Regions from separate parts of the Homo sapiens genome. Here regions 1, 2 and 4 are each linked to region 3. Evidence: promoter capture Hi-C in 16 types of primary human blood cells and fetal thymus (Javierre and others, 2016). All regions are on one chromosome and are shown on one strand. The core of a region is centred on a gene start or on the middle of the fragment in contact, and the rest is flanking DNA. Distances in the headings are between cores, read along the strand shown.

Region 1 (2,709 bases), core at 171-2,670, 460 kb before region 3:
GGCATATCTGGTTGGTTTCCCTTTGGTCACCCTTGGCTGGCCTGGCCATAGAGTGGGGACAGGTTGAACACCCCACCACCCTGCTGCCCACAGAGTCTGATTCAGGATGACGTGGACCTCCGTGACACACGGAGGCACTGTGACAAGGGAAACCTGCGTGTCAAGCCCCAACAGGGCACAGCAGTCTTCTGGTACAACTACCTGCCTGATGGGCAAGGTGAGGGCCTATGGCCAGGCCTGGGGGGGGTGCCCTGAGTACAGCTTCCCTTTACCCAGCCCCCGTCTGCCACAATGGAGGGCTGTTTCTGGCTGCTTTCCAAATAGTTTTCTGCTCCTGGTGCCTCCCAAAGGCCATCCTTAGTGACTTTAGCAGACTGCCCCAGGACCTGTACTGCTTATTGGGTTATATCCATCCCTATCATTCCCTGATGCCCCAGCCTTCCTACTCCCTGGGGCTTGGGACACATGTCCCTTGCTAACCCAGGATGGGAAGGGATATGGACAGGCCCAACAGCAAGAAAGCTGGTTTCAGAGGGCCAGTAGTGTTGACTATACATTAGTGGGCTGAGATGAGGAGCCTCCAAGGAAGCTTTAGGTCTGGGTGTTTGCTACACAAGGAATGCATAGCTGGACCCACCTTGGTCATGCTCTTGGTGCCTATGAGGCCAAGCTCTGGCCAGCCCAGCCTAGGATCTCACGTCACCCTCCTCTTCTAGGTTGGGTGGGTGACGTAGACGACTACTCGCTGCACGGGGGCTGCCTGGTCACGCGCGGCACCAAGTGGATTGCCAACAACTGGATTAATGTGGACCCCAGCCGAGCGCGGCAAGCGCTGTTCCAACAGGAGATGGCCCGCCTTGCCCGAGAAGGGGGCACCGACTCACAGCCCGAGTGGGCTCTGGACCGGGCCTACCGCGATGCGCGCGTGGAACTCTGAGGGAAGAGTTAGCCCCGGTTCCCAGCCGCGGGTCGCCAGTTGCCCAAGATCAGGGGTCCGGCTGTCCTTCTGTCCTGCTGCAGACTAAAGGTCTGGCCAATGTCTTGCCCCACCCCGCCAGCCGCGATACGGCGCAGTTCCTATATTCATGTTATTTATTGTGTACTGACTCCATCTGCCCCGTCAAATAAAAAACCACAAGGTTCGAGCCGCCGGGCCCGACAAACTCCGGGTCGGCGAAACAGAGTCCGCGATAGGTGCAGCGGGCTGGCAGCTGGGAGCGCCCCGCAAGCGTCACGTGAGGGGGCGAGGGGCGGGATGCCCCTCCGCGGGCCCCGCCAATGATGAGCTGGATTGCGTGGGACGAAGGGTCGTCATTGGACAACCGCCGCGGGCGCCCTGGTCTCTGCTACCTGTAGCTGAGGGCGCTGTTGATGGGCAGCGCGGCGCGCTGGGAAGGCTCGTTCTCGCGAGAGTTCAGCTCCCTTCTTAGCCGTGGCTGCCTCAGCACCTCGAGGATCGACATGGACGCTCTCGAGGACTACGTTTGGCCGCGGGCAACCTCGGAGCTTATACTCCTCCCAGTGACGGGTCTGGAGTGCGTGGGGGACCGGCTGTTGGCGGGTGAGGCTTGGCTTGAGGCACGCCTGGTGGAAAGGGGGAAAGAAACAGCGCCTCCCAGGGGCGGTGCCACAGGGACAAAAGGGGTGCCCTGAGGAGAAGGACGGGCAGCAGGTTGAGGCCGATCGGAGGTGGGAAGGGAGCCCCGGAGATGGCGGGGACGAGGGCCAACCTGAAGAGGGCGGGGCCCGAGAGACAAAGCTGATGTGGCCGCCGCGGCGCTTCATAAACTTCAGCCCGCGTGGAAAGGGCGGGTGGAACCGCGGGAGGGTGCAGGGGAACGCGGCCGCGCGGAGGCGGAGGCGGAGGCCCGGGAGCTGAGGGTTGAGGGGGTGTGCTCCCTTCTAGGAGATGGGCGGGGGCTTGGCCTCTCCGAAGGAGACGGGGCCGAGCTGGGGGGGGCGGAGGGAGGAGGAGGAGGAGGAGGCGGAGGCGGCCCCGGCCCCTCAGGGGGTGTGGCCTCTTGGGGAAGGCGGGGCCGGGAGAGGGCAAGGGTGTGGCCTCTCGAGGGCGGGATGAGTCTCTTCCCCCTAAGGTGGGGGTGAAGATCCTCTGAGGAGGGTGGCGTCGCGGAAAACGGCGGATAAGACCTTTCCGAGTAGGGGGCGGTGCCCGGGGAAGCAGGGGCTGAGACCCCCTCCTGAGATGGTTGAGGTCCAGGAAATCAGGTGTGGAGGTCCCTCCAAGGAGAACCGGGTCGCAAAGGACAGGCGAGGCCTGGGACCTGAGGTGTCAGAGTCCAGGCTGGTCTCGAACAGTCATTACATGAAGCCACTAATGACCCATGTTGGTGCTGCTGAGTTGTATAAGGGTCCTGAGGCAGGGCCTTGGCGGTCAGGCCTTGAGTGAGTTGCCACCAGTCCTAAGAGGGTGTGTGTATGGGGTGGGGATGATCCAGTTTTGATCTGGTGTGGGGGTTCTTGGAGCGCGGAGTTCCTACCGCGAGCTAAACTCCTAAGGCTCCTTGAGGGGGAACAACGAAGCAGAAACTCAAAGAACCACAAGAGTGAACTAGGAAAAGGGGTGAGTTCCTGGCAAGAGGGTAAGCATGCCAAAGGCCTTGAGGCTGGAAGAATCTGTCATTTTGGGGGAAGGAGGGAATTCTTGTGAAGTTAGAGCAGGAATGGAGTCTGGGAGGAAAGGAAGCTGGA
Region 2 (3,110 bases), core at 276-2,775, 480 kb before region 3:
TCTACTAAAAATATAAAAATTAGCCGGGCATTGTGGCGGGCACCTGTAGTCCCAGCTACTTGGGAGGCTGAGACAGGAGAATTGCTTGAACCCGGGAGGCGGAGCTTTCGGTGAGCTGAGATCACACCACTGTACTCCAGCCTGGCGACAGAGCGAGACTCTGTATCAAAAAAAAAAAAAAAATTATAATTAAAAAATTAAAACTAAATAATAATAAATAAAAATACAAAAAAAAAAATTGGCCCGCCATGGTGGCGCATGCCAGCTACTTGGTAGGCTGAGGCAGGAGAATTGCTTGAACCCGGAAGGCAGAGGTTGCAGTGAGCCAAGATCGCGCCACTGCACTCCAGCCTGGGCGACAGAGTGAGACTCCGTCACACACACACAAAAAATCTTAGAAGAAAGAGGTGGGCCTGCCCTTGGAGCCCCTGGCCTGCCTTGACTTGAGGGGACTAGAAAATGCAGACTATGCTTTGCTATGGGGAAGGGAGAGGAGATGGGAGTAGAGGTAGTGGGGGTCTTAACCAGGGTAGGGAGAAACCACCAGTGTGACCTGCCTTAAAAGTGTTGCTCTTGCCTGCAAGTCCACCTCGGGGAGGGGGGTCAGCTTCTGCCCTGAGGGCGTGTAGTAATCTCTTCCTGAGGATAACCAGCTCTAGAAGAGCAGGGATGCCTTGGCACTTGACCACTGGTAGGTATGTCCTCCCCCCACCCCCGTTTTTGGTGATAATCTGTTTAATTTTTCTCTGAGGTAATGGTGTCTCAGTTATGGAAGAGTCCCTTCCCGCCTCTTCACACGTGCCAGCTTTGATGCAAGGAGTGTTCCATATACCTGAGCACTGGTTCATTCCTGCGGGCTGCCATGGGGGGCTCACTTTCCTGATGCCAGGGCTCCTCCAGGATGCCCCCTCTGACGGCCTATGAAACCTTGCACATCAGGCAGCTTCTTCCTAAGGCCTGCCTGACTCCGGCGAGACTTCCCGGGAGATCCGGACCGACCGCGGAACCGAGCTCCAAGAATGCCTGCGAGGAGGCTGTGGGTCCTACCCTATCGCCGCTTACGCAGTCCCAGCCTCCGCGGCGCCCCCAAATGCCGCACTGTTGAGTCATCTCAGCGCTGCCTCCTCCGCGCTGCGCTCCCCACCCCCGCTCCTGGAGCAAGAAGATGCAGACGATACTTTTCCCGGAGGCAAGAGGGCGTCTTCACGCAGGCACCGAGAAGCTCCCACTAGTGTATGCCTTAATGGTGCCGCTCTTGTCCGCGTCTACGCTTGGGACCTTGGCTTCTGACTTGGAGAGTGTACAGCTCTGCCCGACGGCAACCCAGCTTGGGAAGAGAAGCCCCAGCGTGGGCTGGGGCTCAAGGCGCAGGAAGGCCGAGCCCGGCGCGGACGCAGGCGGCTCCGGGCGGGCTCAGCACCCCCAGGCACCGTCTCCTAGTGACCGCGGCGCTCGCGGGCCTGGCGGCCGTTGTCCGGGCGACTGCGCAGCGCGGGCACCCCCGCGGCCCCTCCCCTGGGCGCGCGCGCGACCTGGGTGCCATGGCGGCAGCGGCGGTGACAGGCCAGCGGCCTGAGACCGCGGCGGCCGAGGAGGCCTCGAGGCCGCAGTGGGCGCCGCCAGACCACTGCCAGGCTCAGGCGGCGGCCGGGCTGGGCGACGGCGAGGACGCACCGGTGCGTCCGCTGTGCAAGCCCCGCGGCATCTGCTCGCGCGCCTACTTCCTGGTGCTGATGGTGTTCGTGCACCTGTACCTGGGTAACGTGCTGGCGCTGCTGCTCTTCGTGCACTACAGCAACGGCGACGAAAGCAGCGATCCCGGGCCCCAACACCGTGCCCAGGGCCCCGGGCCCGAGCCCACCTTAGGTCCCCTCACCCGGCTGGAGGGCATCAAGGTGAGGACCTCCCTGCCCCGCCGCGCTCCAGGCCCTGCACGGCTGAGCCCGAGAGGACCGGCGCTCAGCCCGGGTCCCCACGCTGCCCCCGGCGCTGCTCTGCGTCGGTCCCGCGCGCTCCCACTCACTCGCCTGCTGTCGCTCTCCGGGCCGGGGCGACTTGGCCCTTCTTGGGCAGCGCGGTCTGGCGCCCCAGCTGCCCGCTGTGCGCCTTTTCCTTAGGTGGGGCACGAGCGTAAGGTCCAGCTGGTCACCGACAGGGATCACTTCATCCGAACCCTCAGCCTCAAGCCGCTGCTCTTCGGTAAGTCCGCCAGATACTCCTGGGAAGGGCCAGGGGCTGCGGTTTGGTGGCCACCTTGAGGCTCGTTGTGACCACGTGACCTCTATTTTGAAAATGGCTGCTTCAGAGCAGCCCTTCCAGAGGATTACCAAAGTGAAGGACCTTCCCCGTCCTCGAAATAGGGTAACACTCCCTCTTATCCCAACTCCCTGCAGTCCATTCTTCCATCACAGGGCTGGCAGGGTGAGCCTGAGGCTGGTGTCTAAACGTTTCATTGCACCTGTCTTCCGTGCCACCATTAATTCTGTCACCTTCTAGAACTGGGAGGAAGGTGGGAGACTGATAACCAGCTTTCTGCCGACCTCAGGACCTCTGGGGAAAATCCCACTGCCGAAGTGGGCCTTGTGGTCTGATGAGAAGCAGGCCGTCCAAATGTAGATAAACTGGTACCCCCCCAGCCTCCTCCACTGGAGTACCAGTCAGAGGCTCAGCTTTTGCTGCCAGCACTCTGAGATTCTTCTTAAGGTGAAGTCTTTGTTCAGCCATCATGGGCAAAGCTTTCTAGGGTGACTCCAGTTGGAGCCACAACATAGCTCATCGTTTCTGAGCTCTAGTTATGTGCTTGCCTTCATATGATTATTTCATTTAATTCCTGCAACCCCTCTGTGAAGTGGGTGTAGATCCTACTCAGGCCAGTGAGGGGGAAAGTTAGGGACAGAGAGCTGCTGTGGCTTGGCCAGGCTGACACGGTTACTTCAGTGGTGAAGCTAGGATTAGAACCCACATAGCCTGCCTCTAAGGCCTATGCAGTAAAGCCACAGTGCGAGCTGTGAAGACCCCAGAGTCCTTCAAAGACCACCAGTGTCAACTGGGTGGGGACCCCTAGTCCCATGGACATTGTCCAGGGTGTTTGTGTAGCCCAGCCCTGGGTA
Region 3 (2,925 bases), core at 351-2,850:
GCCTCAGTCTCCCATCCGTGTAAGGGCCGGGCAGCAAGGCTTTCATCCTTTGCAATTGAGAGAACGCTTCCTGATTGTTCTCATGGCTTAGAAATACCCCTTGATTTGCATTCGAAGGAAATAAGGAGGGCTGAACGCAGTCGACGGGTGGCCAGTTGCTGGGCCAGTTCGCAGTCCTGACTGTCCCTTGATTAGTCTTAGAGGCCCAAAGGCCTGAAGTTGGGCGGGGAGCCCCTCCCCCACACTACTGGTTCTGAAGGCTCCGAGTGACCGGGACCGACCGCCGGGGTGTGTCCCGGGACGGACTTCCCTGGCCGTGGGGGCGAGGCTTCCATAATGGGGCGTGACTTTTAGGGCGGGGGAGTGGCTAGCCAATGAGCAGAGAGGTGCTGGCCGGGGCGGGGCTTGCGCGCGGGTGCGGCGCGCTGCGGAGCGGCCGACGCAGGCAGAAGCCGGCGGCGCGCGGACAGCCAGTCGGCGCCGCGCGGAGCTGGCCGCTGGATTGGCTGCAACACTCGCGTGTCAGGCGGTTGCTAGGCTCCGGCCGCGCGCCCCGCCCTTGCGCTCAGCGCCCTCTCACCGCCCGGTACGTGCTCGCGCGAAGGCTGCGGCGCGGCGCTCGCGCCTCTTAGGCTTGGCGGTGGCGGCGGCGGCAGCTTCGCGCCGAATCCCCGGGGAGCGGCGGTGGCGGCGTCCTGGGGCCAGGAGGAGCGAACACCTGCCGCGGTCCTCCCGCCGGCGCTGGGTGAGTGCACCGCCCGCCCTATCCGCTGTGCCTGGCTGCTTGGGCCCCCATCCCTGCTGCCGGCTGAGCCTTCCGCGGAACACCTGCTGCTGCTCGCTGTTCGGCCCGGGGCGGGGACACGGCCGCGGACGTCCTTGTGGGTGAGGAGGCGGTGCCGCCCGGGCGGAGCCGCCCCTTTGCTCTGGGTCCCGCAGGCAAAGGCTCGGAGCGTTCGGCTGCAAGGCCCGGGCCGCGCGCCGCGGCGATGGGCCAGGCCTTAGCTCGGCCCGCGCTCCCGGGAACGTGGAGCCTGCGCCTTGGCCGCGGTCGTGAGCCGCCTGCGGGCCGCCTCCCTGGCTTCCAATAGGGGTTGTGGCCCAGTTGGGCCGGATTCCGACTGTGGGGAGTCGAGCCCCGCTAGAGGCAGGGAAGGGCACCGCTGCCGCCACTGCTCTGTCAGAGCTGCTCAGAGCCTTGGTGGGTTCCGTCATCCTTACTTGAGCTCCTTTGGAAGCTTGTTTACTTACTACCTTTTCACTTTGTATTTGGCAGACCTGGTTCACCTGCGAGTGTATTTGGATAGTGTCTCCACAGAAAATGTCGTCTCGGCTTGGAATCTTTTTGCCATAAATTCTAAGTTAGTTTCCTACAAACTCAACTGGTAACTTAAAATGCATCCTTTAATCTCTATAACTTGAAAAGTTCTTATTTTTGTAAATCGAGTTGCTTCAGAATTAGTTTTAATGGTGACGATGAAGTTTTGACTGGTTGAGGCAAGAGCCTGGGACAGCACCTTCATAGCGCAGAGTCTAACTTAAGATTCTAGCCTGCTGCTTCCCTAAATAAGCGAGTAGAAGTGACTCCTGGCATAGAAGCCAGACTCCGTGAAGGGAAGGTGGTGTTTATAGGACATAATTCCAGATAAAGAGCTGGATGTGCTTTCAGGTGTTTTGCAAAGTCTGGTGTAGATGGGGTATTGCAGTTTTATCAGGTTCTATGCTTAGTTAAGTTCAGAGACATTATTTTGGAATGTTCCTGTTCTAAAAAAGAATTCAACCGTACTACATTTTGGAGGCATAAAAATCCATAGTTTGAGTATGGAGAAGTTTAGTTGAACTTTTGTGGGTTTTTTTTGCTGTGAACTAAGGAAGAAGAGCTCATGGCCTGTGTCCTGTATTTTGGAGAAATCAGATTTCAGTAGGGAGTTGGATCCATCATGTGAAGACCCTATGGGATATAAAAGCTTGTGCTGACATGTGCTTTTGTTAAAAGAGGCACAGTGCAAATCCTCACTGTTCTTAAAAATTGATTTTGCAAAATGCATTTATTCATTTGAACAAATATTTTGATTCACTACCTGCCAAATTCTGTGGTAGATCCTAGGGACCCATGTAAAAGAGTCTGCTTCTGCCCTTAAGGAATTCAGTTTAGGGGGCAGTGGGGACCAGGGAACCCATGATTAATAGTGTCTGCCCGCTAAGCGTGCTCACATAGTAGCCTGAGGAGAGAGGGAATTCCTGAGCTGTGGTTTTCAGGGCCAGCAGGAATTAGTGGGGGACATCAAGGCCTGGACACAGGGAACCACATGTACATGAGCACCTAAAATAGTGCTTGGGAGTCCTCCAGCTTGGCAGGTGCGAGCTCTGGGCCTGCCTTGTGCTCAGGAGTTCCAACTTTGTATGCGGGGTGCAGGAGTCTGGGGAGCCTTTTAATCAGTAGAGTGGTGTGACCCAGACCTGTGTTTAGAAAGATATTGCTGGTGGAGTGGCAGGAAGAGGGAGGGGGTCAGGACCTCTGGCAGTTAAGTCAGCTAACAGAGGAGAGGTGGGGAGGGAGAAGGAGCCATCAGAAAAGAGAGACTGAAAAGGTAGTACAGAGGGGATGTCCTGCCATGATGGGGGAGGAGCTACATTCTGGAATGCATGGGCCAGAAGACCAAGCATAACCAAGGATTTAAATTCCTTGTTGACTACCTGGTATAGTGACCTACAGAGTTGCTTGTGTCTGGTTAGTGTTGAGGATGGTGGGATTTGGAGGGACCACTTAGGGACCACTTAGACTGCCGTCGATGCATAGGAAAGGAGGCCTGGCATTTGATTATTAAAAACTTTATCGCCGGGCATGGTGGCTCCCACCTGTAATCCCAGCAGTTTGGGAGGCCGAGGCGGGCGGATCACGAGGTCAGGAGATCGAGATCATCC
Region 4 (2,963 bases), core at 409-2,908, 350 kb before region 3:
AGCCAGAGTGCCCCGGGGTCGGCAACAGCGTCTGGGTCAGGGCTGCGGCGCTTTCTTCCTGGCCCAGCTATCTTGGCAACTCTTTGTGGCCAAATTCTCCAGCAAGGAACGGACAGCCTAATGGAAAGAAGCCAGTGATCACTGCCAAGACCCAACAACTTGCTCTTTAGCTACACCCAGGGCTCAGCAACACAGGACACTAATGCTACAGAGCTGTATCTTCTCATCTCTTAAGTACCCCTGGACACTCTCAGGATATTCTGAAGAGGTAATAAATAATGCAAGTAGCAGCAACCACTTCTGGCCAAGCCTCATAGATACCCACCATAACAGTCCCACACAGGTGAAAGCCTCACTGAGGGGGCACCAGGTCAAGGAAGTCATGGCCTGGGACCAGGCTACTCCACCAATCTGGAGAGGAGCCACGGCTCCAGCCCACAGGGCTGGCACTCCGAGCAGGGTGCTCACTTTTCCTTCACTCTCACTGGCTGCTTAGTCACCACTGGAGAAATAGAAGGTGGAGGAGGAAGGCAGGACAGGAGACAAGCCGCAGGAGAACCAGGCTCTGTGGCTGTAAACAGGCTCAACCCAGGTTCTACCATTGCCCAGAAAAAGTCCTGGGGCTAAGGCACTCCACCTGCCTCCTGCCAGCTCCCACCCTTGGCAAGAACCTGCTCCTATGTACTGCTTGGTCCTTCTTCATTTCAAGAGAAAGTCCTCTCCCCAGCTGCTGTCCCAAGCAGAAAGGGACTGAAAAGTGTATCTAGATGTCACGCTACCTCTTCAGCAGCAACCCTGCTCCAGTACTAAGGCAGGATGGGCATCCAGTTTGAGACTGGAACAGAAATTATCACCTTCCTTCCCAGATGCCTTCACTCATGAGCTCTGAGCCACAAGGACCACTACAGTTTCCCACAGACCCACCAGTGGATTCTGGACTGTTTCCTCCTCCAAAATGAAGGTCTTGAAACTAGATACTGAGATGAGGCTGGGGAGGACCACAGATCCAGGACTCCTGGCAGCCTCAAGCCTGGCCTGAACCAGTAGCAGGACAGATAATGACTAGTCTGTGTTCCCCTAAGTGTGTAAAGGAGGAAGGAGGGATGGCAGGATACCCTTCTACAGGTCAGATGTGGTACTGGTGGGCTGGATCTTTAATGACACCTGCCACCGGCGCCTCCTTCTTGCACCCAGGCCCCAGCCGAAGGTCGCGTCCCTCCCCCATGCCCCAGGGACGTCGAGGCGGGTAAGGGGCTGTTTAGAGACCCGAGCCGGCCTGAAATGGCAGCGCGGGGTTACTGACCACAGATCAGCGCCCCGGTCGAGCTGCGACCCAGCTTCAGCCTCTGAACCCCGAGCCCGCCACCACCTCTCCCACGAAGTTGCCCTCGCTGGCCGCCAGTCCTCTCCCAGGTGGGAGGCTGGCCACAGGCATAGCGTAACGGCCCTGCCGGCATCAGTGGGCTGGCACGCTGCGGGGCACTAGGGGTAGGGACTGGCACGGCCCGTGACCTTGAACAGGCCGCCGCGGCCGCGCGTTGCGGCCTCCCCGCTGCGGCCAAGCCAGCGAGTTGCAGCCTGCTCCACTCACCGAGCGAGACCGCCGCAGCCAGCCCTCTTCGGGCCCTGGCAACCCGCTCTCCGTTCCGGTTCCGGCGCAGGTCGGTTCCGGTTCCGGCGCGCCCCTCCCCCGTCCCGGCGCCGCCGCCACCGCCTTAGCGGCTTGTTTTGTTTCGACTTCTAGCTAAGGCCGAGGGAGGCGGAGCGCCAAGCTGGTGACGCACTTCCGGCGGGAATGGGCTCGGAGCGACCCGCAGCTCCGGGGCGGGCCCGAGCGGAAGGAGGCGGTGCTCGGGTGGCTTAGCGGTGCATGGGTTCTGCTGGGGGCAACCTCGAGGTTCCCCTGGAGACTCCCCCGCCCGCCCCAAATCAGAGTCCAGACAACACAGTGGGGGTTCACACTGGTTTATTGGGGGCCCTGCCGGGCCAAGAGCTCTTCAGTGCATAGGCAGACATGCATGTGGGGCAGTGCTAGGAACTGGGGTAGGCCTTGGGCAGGGGTCACTGGCAGGTGTTGTAGATCTGCACCTGCAAGTTGATGGCTTGAAGCACGCTGCGCATCCTGGCCTCCAACCCGTCCAACTGGGCTGCCTTACTCTCCAGTGCCCGCTCATTTTCCTCATAGGTGCCTTCCAATTCTAGGAAGGGCAGGTGTCAGTTTAGGGGGGGTTTCCCGCAGTCTTGTGTCTCTGGTGCCCCATTTCTTACCCTGTAGCCGCTGCAGCTTGTCCTGAGCGGCTTGCAACAGGTCCCGAGCCTCATCCCGCAGTTGTTCTGCCCTTGCCTGTGCAGCCAGCACACCTTGGGCCTTGCGCTCAGCTAGGGCCTTCACCGTCTGGTACTGATCACCCAGAGGACCGCGTAGCAGCTGCAGATGTAGAGGGTTAGGTTAGCGTGGTAGCTCAGTGGAGGCCCATCTTCCACCCCTACCTTCTCCAGCTGGCTCTGCCTCAACCCACCTGCTCAGCCTCCTGGGCACGACCCTGGGCACTGCCTGCCGTTTCTTCTGCTGTAGAGGCTGCCAGACTATTTCCTGCCCGTTTCAATTTCAGAGCCTCCAGGAGAGCATCCAACTGCCGAGCCCTTTCACCTGCAGAGCTCAGTGCCCGCTCTGCACCTGCCATCCTCTCCTGTACCTGCCATGGGTGAGCCAAAGGTTACACAGATCTACGGTTCATGCCCATAACCTTGTCCCACTGATGTCCTAGGAAGACCTCACCTGGTACAGGGTCTGCTCTGTGTCCCGTGTGTCAGCCACTGCCCCCCGGATGGCACCCTGGGCAATACCCTGTGCCCGCTGGGCCTCCTCCAGTGCTGCCTGTACTGTCTCTGCCTTCTGTTTCTCATCCTCAGCCCAGCTCCTGGGGAGAAGGGGGAATCAGAACCTGGAGGTATCAAAACCA

Evidence for each region. Contacts are between HindIII fragments. The CHiCAGO score rates a contact against its expected background, and 5 or more counts as called.
Region 1: the fragment with the promoter of WDR6 here is called in contact with a fragment that was not itself captured in region 3 in 4 of 17 cell types (fetal thymus, naive CD8 T cells, neutrophils and 1 more); the score reaches 6.3 in fetal thymus.
Region 2: the fragment with the promoter of P4HTM here is called in contact with a fragment that was not itself captured in region 3 in 1 of 17 cell types (fetal thymus); the score reaches 5.8 in fetal thymus.
Region 4: the fragment with the promoter of USP19 here is called in contact with a fragment that was not itself captured in region 3 in 2 of 17 cell types (endothelial precursors and fetal thymus); the score reaches 5.1 in endothelial precursors.

The regions. Positions count from the first base shown.
Region 1 is chr3:49,005,971-49,008,679 of GRCh38, forward strand. It overlaps WDR6 (WD repeat domain 6), which reads left to right and starts at 1,421. Exons shown (of 6, transcript NM_018031.6): 1 at 1,421-1,561. The coding sequence starts at 1,462. It overlaps P4HTM (prolyl 4-hydroxylase, transmembrane), which reads left to right. Exons shown (of 9, transcript NM_177939.3): 8 at 94-217; 9 at 717-1,183. The coding sequence ends at 937. RefSeq lists an enhancer at 199-1,187 and silencers at 1,326-1,375, 1,916-2,095. The HindIII fragment of the contact is 5,770 bases long and covers 588-2,709 here.
Region 2 is chr3:48,988,716-48,991,825 of GRCh38, forward strand. It overlaps P4HTM (prolyl 4-hydroxylase, transmembrane), which reads left to right and starts at 1,526. Exons shown (of 9, transcript NM_177939.3): 1 at 1,526-1,895; 2 at 2,118-2,199. The coding sequence starts at 1,542. It overlaps LOC124909376 (a long non-coding RNA gene), which reads right to left and starts at 1,157. Exons shown (of 2, transcript XR_007095903.1): 1 at 833-1,157. RefSeq lists enhancers at 246-809, 810-1,372, 1,120-1,279, 1,937-2,498 and a silencer at 1,390-1,769. The HindIII fragment of the contact is 11,078 bases long and covers 1-2,733 here.
Region 3 is chr3:49,469,689-49,472,613 of GRCh38, forward strand. It overlaps DAG1 (dystroglycan 1), which reads left to right and starts at 579. Exons shown (of 3, transcript NM_004393.6): 1 at 579-745. RefSeq lists a silencer at 258-997. The HindIII fragment of the contact is 729 bases long and covers 1,237-1,965 here.
Region 4 is chr3:49,119,165-49,122,127 of GRCh38, forward strand. USP19 (ubiquitin specific peptidase 19) reads right to left here and starts at 1,659. Exons shown (of 27, transcript NM_001199161.2): 1 at 1,592-1,659; 2 at 1-117. LAMB2 (laminin subunit beta 2) reads right to left here. Exons shown (of 32, transcript NM_002292.4): 29 at 2,780-2,921; 30 at 2,520-2,696; 31 at 2,269-2,428; 32 at 1,950-2,198. The coding sequence ends at 2,062. RefSeq lists enhancers at 958-1,947, 1,948-2,936 and a silencer at 1,520-1,839. The HindIII fragment of the contact is 7,172 bases long and covers 1-2,963 here.